Regions from separate parts of the Homo sapiens genome. Here regions 1, 2, 4, 5 and 6 are each linked to region 3. Evidence: promoter capture Hi-C in 16 types of primary human blood cells and fetal thymus (Javierre and others, 2016). All regions are on one chromosome and are shown on one strand. The core of a region is centred on a gene start or on the middle of the fragment in contact, and the rest is flanking DNA. Distances in the headings are between cores, read along the strand shown. Region 1 overlaps XPO4 (exportin 4). Region 2 overlaps XPO4 (exportin 4). Region 3 holds the start of GJB2 (gap junction protein beta 2). Region 4 has its middle 8.7 kb from the start of XPO4. Region 5 has its middle 13 kb from the start of LINC00367. Region 6 overlaps XPO4 (exportin 4).

Region 1 (2,700 bases), core at 92-2,591, 660 kb before region 3:
TGATAGCCAAGTTAATCTCTCTTATCATAAGTCTCATTGATGTTTGCATAGAAGAGCAGCTGGAAGTCTGCTTTATGTATGGCAACCTTTCATAAAGTTTATTCTTGGTAATAAAGCTCCTGGGGTAAGAGCCAGGCTATTATAAGAGACAATCCTCTCTCTGAACAAGAGTATTTTATTTTGTCAGCTGGAGTTAGTGTTTGAGTATCTTGGGCTTGTGACAGTAAGCTGGTGAGTAAGGCAAGCTATCTCTGAAGGGCATTTTTTCACTAGCTTGAAATTAATGGCTTTTGCTAGAAATAAATGAGAATGCTGGTCTAAGACTTTCAATGTGAAGATAAGAGTTACTTAAATTGTTAGCCAGTGAATTAACTTGTGAATTTTCAGTACTTCAATGAAAGAAGACAATTAGACTTTTTTTTATAACTTTGACACCTCATTGCATTGTCTTCTACTTGTTTGACATATTAAAATTGTCTTGTAGAAATTTATAAACAACCAAAAAATAGGGAACACATCATTTATTTTCCAACTTCTGTTATGTTAACATAGTGCTGGGCATAGAAGTAAACACTGATTCATTAATCCAAACAGCATTTACTGAACATTTACTATATTGCTTTAGTGATACAGCTTCAGTTATAGCTCTGTTTTTTAAGTGGTGTAACACATTTAGTAATTTTAATTTTGCAGAATGTAGATCATCATCAAGGAATAGAATAAAGCTGAAATAGGTGGTTGTCATTTTCTATGATAATGATAAAAAATACAGCTGCTACTTTACCTTCTTGTAACCTGGTGTAATTACATGGTATTTTTAAGCATTATGCAATTTGAGCCTTAGGACAATTATGCAAATTAGGTATGGCAGAGGGTGGTAGCCCTTACTGTAGATGAGAAAGCTGAGGTCAAGGTACATGAAGGGCTTTGACCACAGTTATTTGAAGAAGGAAATCTTGGACTGTTAGAGCCCAGATTTTCTAACTGATTCAAACAACAGGATTCTTGTATTGGACTCCTGAAAGAGTCCTGCAGAATGTTTTTATTTATCATTTATTTTAGATGTAATTTTAATAAATTTTATTTGGTTTCTAACCTGTGAGCAAATGAAAATGATCCATTTAGAACTACCTGTTAGTGGCAGTCAAATTGCCAGCAGCAGTGAATGATAGACAACAACAAAGGATGATTGAGAAAAGCTATGAAGCAGACATAAATCAACAAGCATTGGGATCTGGCACCACGTTGCCAACGGGTGGAAGGCCCCTTATGTTTTAGTAGCTTCCAAGTAGTCACTTAAGTATAATATCATATAATTGCCATAGAAATAATTCCTTAAGAAAAATTTATAGGACGTTTCATTAAAAATGTTTGCTTGCTGCATTTACAAAATTAACATATTAACTTAATTCTTCATGATCTTAGATAAGTGAAGTATTGTTGTATTAACCTCTTAGAAGTCTTAAGATTTGTATTTTATACTGGGCAAATTCCTGTGTATTTTAGTATGGCAGTCTTTTATCAATTAGTTAGTTAGTCAACTTTGATCCGAATTCACTGACATTAATTACTACAGCTTTTGTTTCCGGCTGTCTTAAGTATCAGAGCCACTGTCTCTGATATGGAAAAATATCTAGCTCTGACTTTGACAAAGGCCAGAGAGGCAGCACTTGAAGATACTGGTCAGTAGAGGGTGAGTTAGGGGGTAGTGCACTCGGAATGCCCATTGAGACCTAACAGTCTGAAGGAGGCAGATAAGAACATTCTTTAAGGGTAAGAAAAGCTGAAGCTGGTGATCTCCTTTAGGCAGATTTGATGCTTTAATTTTTTTTCTTTCCTCTCTCTTTCCTGGGAAGAAGCTGTCCTCTGTTCTCCCTTGGGAGTTTTATTTTTGGCTTGCTTCCCTAGCTATCTTCATTACAACCCACAATGTGAGAGTAACTTCATTTTAAGGGGATTTAATCCATAATTAAATATTGAAAATGAGCAAACATATTTAGAAGTGAGTCCTAGACATTTAGTGATATGTTTAATTCCCCTATGAATAGGGAGAAATACTTTGTTGATATGTGTTGAAGTACTTTGCTCTCTTAATGTATAATCAATGTTTAATTATTCATCATTCCCCAGGAGTCTCTATTCATTTGGCACCTTTGAGCCAGACTAGTGTAGTATGATTAATATTTATGATGGTAATCTCATATTCCTACAGGATTTCCAAATTAAGGAGAGCTTATACTATTTGGTATATTTTAATGATGAAAATATCCTATTGAATTTTAGTTCTTTGGAAGCTGATAATCGTAGGTACAGTTAAAGCCAGAATATTTGATTTCTTGCAATACCTCTAACAATGCTGTACAATAATTTATTTTTATGTATTTCTTAAGTCTTTAAGTGGTATATTTAAATAGAACACATTTGTTTTTAAATTTTTTTCTTTTTATTTCATAGGTATAAAGTGGAAAAGTAGAATGTAAAACTATATTTGGGTTTATATCAATGATATATAAAAATTTATATCTGTGCATCAAAAAATTGGAAAGCTATAAATGTTACAGTAATAACTCCTGGATGGTAGGATTGTAGACAATTTTATTTTCGTTGTGCTTTTCTACGATTTCTAGTTTTTCTAAGATAGAAGTATATTTTTGTAGGATGAAAAAATTATTTAAAAACGAAAGATTCTTACGTGTTCAG
Region 2 (2,700 bases), core at 28-2,527, 600 kb before region 3:
TTATATATATATATAATTCATATGTATTAAGAATGATAACCCTTTGTCATATTGGTTGTTCTTTTTTAAACTACTTTCTTTTTTATGTAACATTTTAATTTCTGTATTTCTCGCATTCCTTTTAAGCTTAGAAATATTATACACACTTGAAATCAAATGGATATTTCTATAGAAATTGTTTAACTCATTATGGCTAGTATGCCAGTAGATTTTATATTTCAAAACATTGATTAAGCATTAGTTTTATTTCTAGACTGTCCCCTGCTCTTAACCTCCCCAATACTTCTGTATCAAGTACTCATATCCCCTAATAAAACTCAAAAGGATGACACAGGGCTGGGGTCTCAGATCTTTTTTTCACCCCTGGATGTGCTGTCTCCTCCATCCCCTCACCAGAGACCAGGCAGGACGAGGTCAGATTCTTTATTATTCACTCATTGATTTATTTAGCCTCTAGGGGTGAGTTTATTTTCATAAGGGTAGAATACACACTTGGAAGATTTATTGATGTTACCACCATAAGCCTGCATCCTTTTATTTTAATAGATGAAGTGTTTAGAGGACATGAGCCAGGTCAAGCAGCAAACAGATCTGTGTCAGCAGCGGATGTTGTGTTGTATGGAGTAAACCTAATTCTGCCCTTGATGTCACAGGATCTCTTGAAGGTAATTAATGAAATTGAATGTGAACATACCACTATGTGTAACTGAAGTTCAAAGATACTTTAGACAAGAATATATCTGTGATTTAATTTAGTAGTTGTATCTGCTAAGTGCACATGAAGATACAATTTTTGTATTTTCATTAACGGTTACTTGTGCATGCTTCTCAGTAACATGGGCCCTTACTTAGTCTCTGTTTCTGCCCCAAAGTCCTGCAGGCACCCATACATTAGTGACTCGTTTTGTCAGGGAGTGCTACAGAAAGGAGCCTGTCCTTTTAGAAAGTACATTCTGTTAGCAGTTTTGATTACCTCATAATTTGTCACTAAGGGAATAAAGTAAGTTAAAAGTTTCAGTGTTTTCCTCTGATACTTTCTGAACATCATTCTCAAGTTAAGGGATTGAGCAAAGGAAGGCATTTTCCAAGGGGCACCATGTAAAAATGGGATGGTATGCTTCCAAGACTGATGCTGTTTTAAAGTTTTTGCACATTCTGACTACATTATGCCTTGGTTTTGTCAGTTAATATTGAGGGTGTGGTGGCGGTGAGGCAACTTTTTTCTACCATCCGTAAGTACCACAGAGGGAGGTCTCTTGTCATGAGTTGTCATAGCAGGATAAGGGTGGGGATGAGGACATGGGTGGAAAGGAAAGGAGGAGTTTGTGTGTGTATGTGCACATGTGCATGCATGCATGCGTGTGCACACACACACGAGATAAAGACAAGGAGTAGGAGGAAGTAAGATAGTAGAGGCTGGGCCGGGCGCAGTGGCTCACGCTTGTAATCCCAGCACTTTTGGAGGCCGAGGTGGGTGGATCACGAAGTCAGGAGATCGAGACCATCCTGGCTAACATGGTGAAACCCCGCCTCTACTAAAAATACACACACACACACACAAAAAAAAAGCCGGGTGTGGTGGTGGGCGCCTGTAGTCCCAGCTACTCAGGAGGCTGAGGCAGGAGAATGGCGTGAACCCGGGAGGCGGAGCTTGCAGTGAGCCAAGATTGTGCCACTGCACTGCAGCCTAGGTGACAGAGCGAGACTCTGTCTCAAAAAAAAAAAAAAAAAGTAGAGGCTGAGAAGTGTCCAGAAGGTGAGTACATACGAGAAGAATGAGTCCTGTTTGATTGCCAGCATAGCAGGATCTAACCGTGTGCTTCCCCCTCCTTGAGAGCGTCTCTAACTATTGGAAACAATGTTGATGACCCATGGCATTCACACAGCAGCCAGCCAGCAGGATGAGGAAGTTTAGTCAACTCTCCATATTGATTTGCATTTAGGGTTTGTTTAAACAAATAAGCCATTAAACATTTAAGTGTGTATTTTTCTTAAGTGTGGTTAAACCAGATTACTTACTTTTACCTCAGTTCTCTAGGATAGTACAACTGGAAAAATGTTTTTGGAAGTGTAAAGACCGAATACTCTGCTCTGTGCATAGTCTTAACAATTTGTATTAACCTTCTTGAATTTTTTCAGCATGCTTGAATGGAAATACATTTACAAAAAGGTTTTACTCCTAAGTTATTTAATAATTTTAAATCTGGCTGCCTTGTTTACTTTTTCCGGGTAAACACAGAATATCAGGAATTGACCTTAGATTTTATTAACTATCTAGAAGATAATTGTTTTGACTGTCTGTTACTTTGTTTCATAGTAGTTACTAAAATATGCCCTTTATTTGTACCTGTTTTTACATTTAATTTGGTCTTCATGTTTTCTATATCTTGTACATGTTTTAAAGAAATCATTATATTTAGAAGCTTGTCAGTTACTTTATTTTATTGCATTGATGAAAATAGAAATTGGATACTAATGAGCATCCAAATAATTGAATATTTCTTTTTCAGTTTCCAACCCTTTGTAATCAGTACTACAAATTAATCACATTTATCTGTGAGATTTTTCCTGAAAAAATACCACAGCTTCCTGAGGATCTGTTTAAAAGTCTGATGTACTCCCTAGAATTAGGAATGACATCATATCCTTTAAATGAACATCACTGTTACTTGTTACTTGGGGAAAAAGATCTTCCTTTAA
Region 3 (2,700 bases), core at 107-2,606:
AATCATCATTTCCACTTAACTTCGAACTGACCTGGGTAAAAACGTGAGCGCGAGGGGACCAGGCTGCACCTCTGACCTGGCTCCCCTCTGCAAAAATCGCGAAGTGGGTGCCCGAGGTGGGGCGGGGGTTGGGGGAGACCTCCCCGGGAGTCCCCACCCAGCCTGCTCTGCACATCTTAGTCCCTCATCCGCTTGCGCTGTGCAAATCTGTCTTCTGTCATTTGTATCGCAAGACATCAAAATCCCCAACCAAATGCAAATACTGAGACCTCATAATCTGAGACAAAGTTTCACGGTATCCAGAAAGCCCCCAGCAGGTGTGCAGTGCAGAGCCAGCCCCCCAGCGGTCTTCCGCAGAATCCTATCAGTTTCCCCCTTTCGTGCTGTGTGCATCGAGCAGGAAGGGGCTTGGCAGGTTTTACCTGCCCTCTTTCCTTTCTGAAAAGTCTGGGCCTCCTCACCCCGAAAGGAGTCACCTCCTTGCAGTTCCCCAGTTGCGAAAAGAGGAGGAAGTTGGCTGGGCCGGGGGCCGCGGGGGGCACCCTCCGCAGATGGCGGGACCCCCCTGCCGGCCATGGCAAAAACGAGGCTTGTCTCTCCCACCGCCCCCAACCTTAGTCCTTGGCACATTGTTGAAAGTAATTGAATAAAATCGGAAATTCGAGAAGGCGTTCGTTCGGATTGGTGAGATTTTGAGGGGAGAAAGAAGCGGGGACTTCGCCGGCACCAGCGGCGCCCCCTCCTCGGCCACCGTTAACCCCCATTCCAGAGGGCACTGCCCCGCCACCCAGCCTAGGTCCCCCTGCGAGAGCCTCGCGGGCCCGCGCAGCCTCCGCGACTCGAACAGATCTTCAGTCCTTGGAGGAATGCCTGTTTCTCTAACAATAAAAAATTAAAGAAGCGCTCATAAATGCCAAGTCCTCTCGCACTATGCGGAGTACAGAGGACAACGACCACAGCCATCCCTGAACCCCGCCCACGGCACAGCGCCGGAGCCGGGGTCTGGGGCGCCGCTTCCTGGGGGGTCCCGACTCTCAGCCGCCCCCGCTTCACCCGGGCCGCCAAGGGGCTGGGGGAGGCGGCGCTCGGGGTAACCGGGGGAGACTCAGGGCGCTGGGGGCACTTGGGGAACTCATGGGGGCTCAAAGGAACTAGGAGATCGGGACCTCGAAGGGGACTTGGGGGGTTCGGGGCTTTCGGGGGCGGTCGGGGGTTCGCGGACCCGGGAAGCTCTGAGGACCCAGAGGCCGGGCGCGCTCCGCCCGCGGCGCCGCCCCCTCCGTAACTTTCCCAGTCTCCGAGGGAAGAGGCGGGGTGTGGGGTGCGGTTAAAAGGCGCCACGGCGGGAGACAGGTGTTGCGGCCCCGCAGCGCCCGCGCGCTCCTCTCCCCGACTCGGAGCCCCTCGGCGGCGCCCGGCCCAGGACCCGCCTAGGAGCGCAGGAGCCCCAGCGCAGAGACCCCAACGCCGAGACCCCCGCCCCGGCCCCGCCGCGCTTCCTCCCGACGCAGGTGAGCCCGCCGGCCCCGGACTGCCCGGCCAGGAACCTGGCGCGGGGAGGGACCGCGAGACCCAGAGCGGTTGCCCGGCCGCGTGGGTCTCGGGGAACCGGGGGGCTGGACCAACACACGTCCTTGGGCCGGGGGGCGGGGGCCGCCTTCTGGAGCGGGCGTTTCTGCGGCCGAGCTCCGGAGCTGGAATGGGGCGGCCGGGGAAGTGGACGCGATGGCACCGCCCGGGGTGCGAGTGGGGCCGGGCGCGCGCGGGAGGGGAAAAAGGCGCGGGCGAGCCGCCAGCGCGAGGTTTGTGGTGTCGCCGATGTCCCTTCGGGGTACTCTAGCGCAGCCGCCTGGCTACTTGACCCACTGCCACCAAACGTTTTAAATTCACCGAAAGCTTAGCTTCGAAGCAAAGCTCCGTTTCGCCGGTGAAGCAGGAAGCCTTCGCTGCAGGAACTGACCTTTACCTCTTGGAGCGGCTTCTGCAGAAAAATCCCCGGGCAGAGATTTGGGCGGAGTTTGCCTAGAACTAACGCGGAGCCAGCCGATCCCGGCCTACCCCGGGGCCAAGATTTCAGTGGCTTCCCTTTTTCCTAAACACTTCACGAGGGTCTGTTTCCGGGCTGTGCTCCCCGCCTAGAAGGAAAATTTTTAGGACCCTTGTTCGCGAAGAGGTGGTGTGCGGCTGAGACCCGCGTCCTCAGGACGGTTCCATCAGTGCCTCGATCCTGCCCCACTGGAGGAGGAAGGCAGCCCGAACAGCGCTCACCTAACTAACAGCTGCTGAGAGCTGGGTTCCGTGGCCATGCACCTGGGACTGCCTTGAGAAGCGTGGTACGGCCGTGTCCCCATGTGACCTTAGAGTCCCTTTCGAAACTGCTGTGCACAGTCGGTCACAATTTCAGACACTGGTGAGAAGGGTGGAGGAACCCTCTGGGGACAGCCAGGCAAGGTCGACCACCCATCACCTAAGGGTGGAGAAATTTAAGGGGTGAAGAGTCCCTTTTGCCTTTTCTGGATCCTGGTGATTCACCTAGTGTCTTCCCTAAGGAACTGAACCAACTCCTCCGCTGGCCTCTGGCAGCCCTCCAGGCGGTGCAGGATGGCGTGGGCCCGGTAGGAAGCTGCATGTAACCGCCCAGGGTCGGGAGGCCAGGAGGGCAGCTCCTCCTCTGACTTGAATATTGAAAACAACTTCGTC
Region 4 (2,700 bases), core at 31-2,530, 720 kb before region 3:
GTACAGACGGGGTTTCACCATTTTGGCCAGGCTGGTCTTGAACACCTGACCTCAAGTGATCTGCCCGCATCGGCCTCCCAAAGTGCTAGGATTATAGGCATGAGCCACTGCACTCAGCCTCTCCTTTCTTTCTTTCTTTTTTTTTTGAGACAGAGTCTCATTCTGTCTCCCAGGCTCCAGTACAGTGGCATGATCTTGGCTCACTGCAAGCTCTGCCTCCTGGGTTCACGCCATTCTCCTGCCTCAGCCTCCCGAGTAGCTGGGACTACAGGTGCCCAACACTGCACCTGGCTAATTTTTTTGTATTTTTAGTAGAGTCGGGGTTTCACCATGTTAGCCAGGATGGTCTCGATCTCCTGACCTCGTGAGCCAGCTGCCTTGGCCTCCCAAAGTGCTGGGATTACAGGCGTGAGCCACCAGGCCCAGCCTTCTTTTTTTTTTTTTTTTTTTTTTTTTTTGACACAAGGTCTTGCTGTGTCACTCAGGCTTGAGTACAGTAGCATGATCTCAGATCACTGCAACCTCTGCCTCCTGGGCTCAAGCGATTCTCCTGCCTCAGCCTCTTCAGTAGCTGGAACTACAGGCACACATCAGCATGCCTGGCTAAATTTTGTATTTTTTGTAGAGATGGGATTTCACCATGTTGCTCAGGCTGATCTCTAACTCCTGGGCTCAAGCAATCTTCTCACCTTGGCCTCCCAAACTGCTGGGATTACAGCTGTGCGCCACCATGCCTAGCGGGGTTCTCTCTTTTATTTTTATTTATTTATTTTTTTGAGATGGTGTCTCACTCTGTCACCCAGGCTGGAGTGCAATGTCGCAGTCTCGGCTCACTGTAACCTCTGCCTCCCGAGTCCAAGCGATTCTCCCACCTCAGCCTCCCGAGTAGCTGGGACTACAGGCACCTGCCACCACACCCAGCTAATTTTGTATTTTCGGTAGAAATGGGATTTGGCCACTATGTTGGTCAGGCTGGTCTCAAACTCCTGCCTCAGCCTACCAAAGTGCTCGGATTACGGACATGAGCCACCACGCCCACCCAGCCTATCTCTTTTTTATTCTTAATCTAGTTAAGTTTGTCAATTTTGTTGATCCTTTCAAAGAACAAATTCTTGGTTTTATTGATTCTCTCTATTGGTTCCCATTCTCGATTTCATTTATCTCTGCTTAATGTTTATTTTTTTCCTTCTGCTAGCTTTAGGTTTAGTTTGTTCTTCTTCTTCTAGTTCCTTAAGGTATAATGTTAGGTTGTTGACTTGACAACTTTCTTCTTTTTAAATGTGTTTGTTGTTGCTGTGGACCCTATCCCTGTTGGACTGAACAAAGGATGACGAACTTGGGAATAAAGATAAAGGCAAAAGAGTATATTTGGAAGAAGGGGTTGGGAGGAGGCGGTCCTTGCTTCTAGTGAACAAGGGCCCTGAGCTTTAGAGCCCTTCGCATTTTATTGAGTAAAGGACACAGGGAGGAGGCAGTGGTTGGTCAGCAGCTTGATTTACAGCTGGCTTGCAAGACTGCATTCTTCAAACAATAAGCTCTAGATGTCCCAGTAGATAACCTCAATGAGCACAGCACCAGGGAGTGATTGCCCTCAGCAAACCTTCTGGCGGTAGGCACAGTCGCTGAGTCTGCCCACATCCTGCATTCATGATAAACAGTTGGCTGTTTGATCATATAGCCTCCAGTGGAATGCTGAGTTGGTCACGATCCCTTTGGTCTTTTCGGCTCCCAACATTTATAAATAAATTTCCTCTTAGTATTGCTTTTGCTGCATCCCATAACTTTTGGTATGTTGTGTTTTTATTTTGATTTATCTCAGGATATTTTCTAATTTCCCTTGTGATTTCTTCTTTGACTCTTTGGTTGTTTAAAAGTGTGTCATTTGGGAGTCTCTCAGAGTCTATTCTTGTTTGGGGGCTGCCCAAGTTTTTTCTTTTTTTTTTTTTTTGAGATGGAGTCTTGCCCTGTTGCCCAGGCTAGAGTGCAGTGGTGCGATCTCAGCTCACTGCAACCTCTGCCTCCCGGGTTCAAGCGATTCTCCTGCCTCAGCCTCTGGAGTAGCTGGGACTACAGGCCCGCGCCAACGTGCCCAGCTAACTTTTTTTGTATTTTTAGTAGAGATGAGTTTTCACCATGTTGGCCAGGCTGGTCTCAAACTCCTGACCTCAAGTGATCTGCCCATCTCGGCCTCCCAAAGTGCTGGGATTACAGGTGTGAGCCACCATGCCCGGCCAGGGACTGCCCAATAAAAAAAAAATAAAAAATAAAAAAAAAGCAAAAAAAAGGGGAAAAAATAGAAAAAAAAGTTACAGTGTGTTGTTTAATTTCCACATATGTACTAATTTTCCATTTTCCTTATGCCATTAATTTCTAGTTTTATTTCACCATGATTAGAAAAGAAATTGTGTGATTTCAAATCCCATTTCCACCGGGTGCGGTGGCTCGCGCCTGTAATCCCAGCACTTTGGGAGGCAGAGGCAGGCAGATCACGAGGTCAGAGATCAAGACCATCCTGGCTAACATGGTGAAACCCCATCTCTACTAAAAATACAAAAAATTAACTGGACATGGTGGCGGGTGCCTGTAGGCCCAGCTACTCAGGAGGCTCAGGCAGGAGAATGGCGTGAACCTGGGAGGTGGAGCTTGTAGTAAGCCGAGATCGCGCCACTGCACTCCAGCCTGGGCAACAGAACGAGACTC
Region 5 (2,700 bases), core at 11-2,510, 740 kb before region 3:
CGCCACTGCACTCCAGCCTGGGCAACAGATCGAGACTCCGTCTCAAAAAAAAAAAAAAAAAGAAAATTTAGGACACTTTGAAAACACAGTGAACAGACACCTATAGTAATCATTTTCCCTGTCACTAAAACTCATAAAACAATGGCTTTGAATGGCTATATGATATTCCATTATGATGATATAGCCCAAATTAATTAACCATTTACTTGTTATTGGAAATTTAGGTTATTTCCTATTTTAAATAATTTAAAATGTAAATATACCTTGTAAATAACATCATATTGCATATCTTTATACATGATCTTTTTCTTTTCCTTGTATAAGCTTTATCATGAGTACATAATCTTTTTCTGCATCTTTAATTATATTCTTAAGAACATTTTTAATGCTCTTGTTATATATTTCCAAATTGATTTCCAGTGTATACTCCCAGGAGAGGGTTAATTTCATGGTTCCTCTTGTGAATGTTATCTTTATTTTATTCTTTAAATATTTCTTTTCTGTATTTTGAATAAATGTACAACAGAATGTTATGTGGATTTTCTTTTTTCCCATGTTCCAGAATTGCAGCTGAAACCAAAAGCCCTGGACAAAAAATGTGAAGTGTCTGGGAACCTTAGAGACCCCTCTGGGCTTTCCGAGAAAGGCAAGATCCGCAATCAGCTCTCCAGCCTTCTCACCTCCCCAGCCAACAGAAACTCTTCTGTCTCCTGGTTGGACTTGGGCTCAGCCTCAGCTGTTGATTAGGACAACTGTGTCCCCCAAGCAGGGGAAGAAACCTTGGAAGAGATGAAGAACAGGGAGTGAGTAAGAGCGTGTCAGTTGAGTGACCGTGAAGACAGTGGGAATGGAGGCAGCTTACCCATGTCGGGCAGATCCACTCCTCCCAGAACCCTCCCAAAAGCCCCTCCACATGCACCTATGGAAGTTCCAGTATTTGAGGGGTCGCCTCACATAGCCCATGTCAGTTAGCATTAGCCACAGAGGCAGGGACACTCACAAGAACCTTGCTGCCAGCTTTGCACAGGGAACTTACCATGAGGTGATGAAGTTTAAGCTCAGTGCCCTTCACCTGGATAATCTATGTTAATACTCAAAGGTGTCCAACATTTTTTTGAGACTAAGTCTTGCTCTGTCACCCAGGCTGGAGTGCAATGGTTGTGCGATCTCAGCTAACTGCAACCTCTGCCTCCCGGGCTCAAGCAATTCTCCTGCCTCAGCCTCCCAAGTAGCTGGGATTACAGGCACCCACCACCACGCCTGGGTAATTTTTTTTTTGTATTTTTAGTAGAAATAGGGTTTCACCATGTTGGCCAGGCTGGTTTCGAACTCCTAACCTCAAATGATCCTTCCGCCTCAGCCTCCCAAAATGCTGGGATTACAGGTGTGAGCCACCATGCCCGGCCTTTTTTTTTTTTTTTTTTTTTTTTTTTGAGACAAGGTATCACTCTGCTGCCCATGCTGTAGTGCAGTGATGCGATCATAGGTCAATGTGGCCTCCACCTCCTAGCCTCAAGTGATTCTCCTGCCTCGGCCTCCCAAAGTGCTGAAATTACAGGCATGAGCCACTGTACCTGGCTATTTTTTTCACTCTCTCTATTTTTTTTTAGACAAGAGTCTTGCTCTGTTGCCCAGGCTGGAGTGCAGTGGCACGATCTCGGCTCACCGCAAGCTCCTCATCCCAGGTTCACACCATTCTTCTGCCTCAGCCTCCTGAGTAGCTGGGACTACAGGTGCCCTCCACCACGCCCGGCTAATTTTTTGTATTTTTAGTAGAGACGGGGTTTCACCATGTTAGCCAGGATGGTCTCGATCTCCTGACCTCGTGATCCACCTGCCTCGGCCTCCCAAAGTGCTGGGATTACAGGTGTGAGCCACCACGCCCGGCCCTTTTTCACTCTCTTGCCTAGGCTGGAGTGTGGTGGCACAGTCATAGCTCACTGTAACCTCAAACTCCCAGGCTCAAGTGATCCTCTTGCCTCAGCCTCCCCAGTAGCTGGGGACTACAGGTGCATGCCATAAAGTCCAGCTAATTTTTTTTAGGTTTTGTAGAGACAGGCTCTTGCTACATTGCCTGGGCTGGCCTCCAACTCCTGGCCTCAAGTGATCCGCTTGCCTTCACCTCCCAAAGTGCTGAGATTATAGGCGTGAGCCACCACTCCTGAGCCCAACATTTTATACATATTTATAAGCTTCAAGTCTGGATCTTGGATGTGCAGTTGGCAGGCAGTCACATAAGACCTCTGTCTCCCATGCTCTTATTATCATTATTCAGGGCATACATGTGCATGTTTGTTACATGGATATAACGTGGAATGGTGAGGTTTGAGTTTCTAGTGCACCCATCACTAAAATAATGAATCTTCTATGCAATAGGTCATTTTTCAACATGAAATCCCTCCCATCCTCTCCCCCTTTGGAGTCCCCCAGTGCCTATTATTTCCCTTTCCATGGTTTTTTTTTTTCTTTCTCCAATACCAGAAATGTCAGGAAAGACGGAAAAGTGAAGCTGACACCTCCATCCCCTACTGCAGATGATAAGGCACTAGTGCAAATTGCATTGAAGGTTAAAGAATCTGCAACAAAATGTCTTCAGTGGACTGGCTACGCAATGGGAAAGGGTAGTTTGGGTTTTGTTTGTTTGTTTATTTCCCCTCTGCACAGTCCACTGGAAAGGGGTACTTTGATTGTAGAACATTT
Region 6 (2,700 bases), core at 85-2,584, 670 kb before region 3:
ATCGGCTTTAAAAATGCTGTGTTCTGTGTTTGCAAGGAACTAGCAGCAGTGGTGAAGGTGGCTCTGTCTCATTTAGGAGTTAGGTCTTAGCAGAGGAACAGGTTCAACAACTACCTTTTAAATTCTCACTGAAGCCATTTTAATTAATTTACTTATTTCAGTGGTCAGCTTTTATAGTTGTGTGGATTCGTTTCTGGCACTAAGAAGATTTAACATATACCTGTGGAGGATATTTAACTCAATGTTAAAGGAAGCAAAACTAAACGGCATAAAGAGTTTAAGGAAGCATTAATTCATCCTTACTGCCTTGAAATTGTTCAGCATTAATAGATTTAGAAAACCGTTGTGTTAAACTATTAACCTAAAATAATTTGAGTCTGGTTTTCATGGCATATGCCTTAACGACATTGACTAGGATTCCATCAGTGTTTCATCTGACTTTCTATTGGAATTCAGTGTCATTGTACACTAGTTGGGAAATAGTTGATCTAACTTACAAGTATTTTATTAGAGTGTATTTGTTTATACCATTCTTTCCTTTTTAGAATATGTATATTTTATGAAGTATTGTTGCTTTGTTATGATTGAGCTTGTTTTGGAATACTTTTGTTTTCCTGATAAAATTTTCTAAAGAGTAGTATTGCTAGTTCTGGCCATGCTTTTAAAATGAGTTTGGGTTTTGAGACACTGACTATTTAAAAGGTGGAGTGCATGTATTACAAGCATAATCATTAATGTACTGCAAAGCCCTGTGTTACATTAATGTTTACATCTAAACTTCACAGAAAATCTTTTCACTCCTTATTCAGTTGCCACCAGCACAGAAGGGTAAATTCCTCTAAGAAGACTTCTCATACAAGTGGCAGTCAATCGCAGTTCAGAATTTTCACATTCTTGTTTAGGGATTATGTGTCATTTTTATAGAAGGTCTGGGTAATATATTCTACTAAAGGGGAGACTTTCTTTGATGCTTCCCTTTTCTGGCCTCTTAAAATTCTTCCTTCTCACTTCTAACTTGAGTTTTATATGTTGCTCATTTTTCCTCATTTCTTTCTCTTCTTATCCTTTTGTTTTCATTCTAGTTTTTATTTTCTTTGCTCTTTTCTGTGTGTGTGTGTGGTGTATCTGTGCATGCATGTGGCATGCTTGTGCATTTTGTCAGAAGAGCACTTTTAGACTTCTTCACTTCAGAAGTCTTTGGCACTTAGTAATTTAAATTTTTTAGGATCAAATGTTCCTTTAAAAAAACAAGTGAGTTCTGTTCTTGTTAAAGAAATAATCAAGAACTGTGAGGGATTGGCTTACTTCTTCTGGAGCTAACTTTGTGGCATTCTTTTACTCTTTCTCAGGGAGAAATGGATTTCTTTCACTTCTGATCTCACAAGTGCCAAAACAAAACAAAATAATAAACCACCAAAAAGTCAGTTAAACTAGTAAACTTTTACACCTCTGGAAAATTGTTTCCTTAGTAGTGCTGTCAGTCACTGGGAATTAATAAATCATCTTCCATCTGAGACTTTTTGTCATTAGTTGGTGGGCATAGGTATCACTGAGTCAAAGAGTAGACTTGGAGCTTATATTGCCTGTGCTTTGGACAGAAATACTTAAGGCCAGAGAGTTGATTGTAGTAGCTGTATATCTGTGGCTTCACTACCGGGGTTTTTTCTTTTTTAAAAAAACTTTTTGGTCAGAATGTAGTGCTTTTCCTGTATTATTAACTTTAACTTTTGTCTTCATGTTTCTGTTTAGTTTCAGATGGCTGACAAAATTCAAATGAATTTTATTTACATAATTATTATTAAAGAAAGTTACTGTGGTAGCAGATGAAAGCATTTTGCTAAAGTGACCTAAAATAATTTATTCTCTGGACAGTGTCCTAGTCAGTGGCAGATCTTCCCAGAAGTAGTTTAGAAATTCTAGATGAGGCTGGGTGTGGTGGCTCACACCTGTAATCCCAGCACTTTGGGAGGCTGAGGTGGGTGGATCACTTGAGGTTGGGAGTTTGAGACCAACCTGACCAACATGGAAAAACCCTGTCTCTACTAAAAATACAAAATTAGCCGGTGTGGTGGCACATGCCTGTATTCCCAGCTACTCGGGAGGCTGAGGCAGGAGAATCACTTGAACCCGGGAGGCAGAGGTTGTGGTGAGCCGAGATTGCGCCATTGCATTCTAGTCTCAGTAACAAGAGCAAAACTCCATCTCAAAAAAAAAAAAAAAATGCTAGATGAATTGTGAGTTCTTCATGAAAACCCTGTAGTTTCAGGCATCTTTGTAACAGAGAGCGAAAGTAAAGCTCATATGTATTTGTGAAGTTCTAATTTCATACTGGTAGGCTTCGAGAGTACCTTCTAGCATCTCTTGCATATTTCTACTATGTATAAGTTAAATTTATGACAGCTAATAATGGTTTTTATGAGAAAGGGTAATTTATTAGTTTAGGAAAATTTCTTCTTTTAAATTAGGAATTTGGCTTTTTTTTTTTTTATTCCTCCATTCTTAGAGTCAGCTTCTTATGGGAGTAGTCATTTAGAGATCATCATTTAATACCATGCAGAGGTCTAAGAAAAAGAATTAAGAAACTTTTGTGTCTTGAAAATTTTGAATATTCATCTTCTATAACTGCCCCCTCACATCCAACACCCACCCACCTCCAAAGGGCAGAAAAAGGCTTGGATGTAAAAACAAATAGTTAGGAAT

The links. The method cuts DNA at HindIII sites, captures the fragments that hold promoters and counts their contacts. A CHiCAGO score of 5 or more calls a contact.
Region 1: a fragment that was not itself captured here is called in contact with the fragment with the promoter of GJB2 in region 3 in 1 of 17 cell types (M2 macrophages); the score reaches 5.0 in M2 macrophages.
Region 2: a fragment that was not itself captured here is called in contact with the fragment with the promoter of GJB2 in region 3 in 3 of 17 cell types (M1 macrophages, total CD8 T cells and M0 macrophages); the score reaches 7.5 in M1 macrophages.
Region 4: a fragment that was not itself captured here is called in contact with the fragment with the promoter of GJB2 in region 3 in 1 of 17 cell types (M2 macrophages); the score reaches 6.3 in M2 macrophages.
Region 5: a contact is called between a fragment that was not itself captured here and the fragment with the promoter of GJB2 in region 3, in 4 of 17 cell types (endothelial precursors, M0 macrophages, megakaryocytes and 1 more). The highest score is 8.3, in endothelial precursors.
Region 6: a fragment that was not itself captured here is called in contact with the fragment with the promoter of GJB2 in region 3 in 4 of 17 cell types (M2 macrophages, megakaryocytes, neutrophils and 1 more); the score reaches 6.3 in M2 macrophages.

Annotation. Positions count from the first base shown.
Region 1 is chr13:20,846,594-20,849,293 of GRCh38, reverse strand. The region is part of intron 4 of XPO4 (exportin 4); the gene reads left to right. Among named protein-coding and RNA genes, the nearest start is that of XPO4, 55 kb to the left of the region's middle. The HindIII fragment of the contact is 3,357 bases long and covers 1-2,700 here.
Region 2 is chr13:20,788,427-20,791,126 of GRCh38, reverse strand. XPO4 (exportin 4) reads left to right here. Exons shown (of 23, transcript NM_022459.5): 19 at 547-665; 20 at 2,511-2,641. Among named protein-coding and RNA genes, the nearest start is that of EEF1AKMT1, 16 kb to the right of the region's middle. The HindIII fragment of the contact is 2,297 bases long and covers 129-2,425 here.
Region 3 is chr13:20,191,594-20,194,293 of GRCh38, reverse strand. It overlaps GJB2 (gap junction protein beta 2), which reads left to right and starts at 1,356. Exons shown (of 2, transcript NM_004004.6): 1 at 1,356-1,511. The HindIII fragment of the contact is 5,188 bases long and covers 1-1,898 here.
Region 4 is chr13:20,910,098-20,912,797 of GRCh38, reverse strand. No RefSeq gene overlaps it. Among named protein-coding and RNA genes, the nearest start is that of XPO4, 8.7 kb to the right of the region's middle. The HindIII fragment of the contact is 3,898 bases long and covers 1-2,700 here.
Region 5 is chr13:20,935,007-20,937,706 of GRCh38, reverse strand. No RefSeq gene overlaps it. Among named protein-coding and RNA genes, the nearest start is that of LINC00367, 13 kb to the left of the region's middle. The HindIII fragment of the contact is 1,868 bases long and covers 327-2,194 here.
Region 6 is chr13:20,864,661-20,867,360 of GRCh38, reverse strand. All of the region lies in intron 2 of XPO4 (exportin 4), which reads left to right. Among named protein-coding and RNA genes, the nearest start is that of XPO4, 37 kb to the left of the region's middle. The HindIII fragment of the contact is 5,438 bases long and covers 1-2,700 here.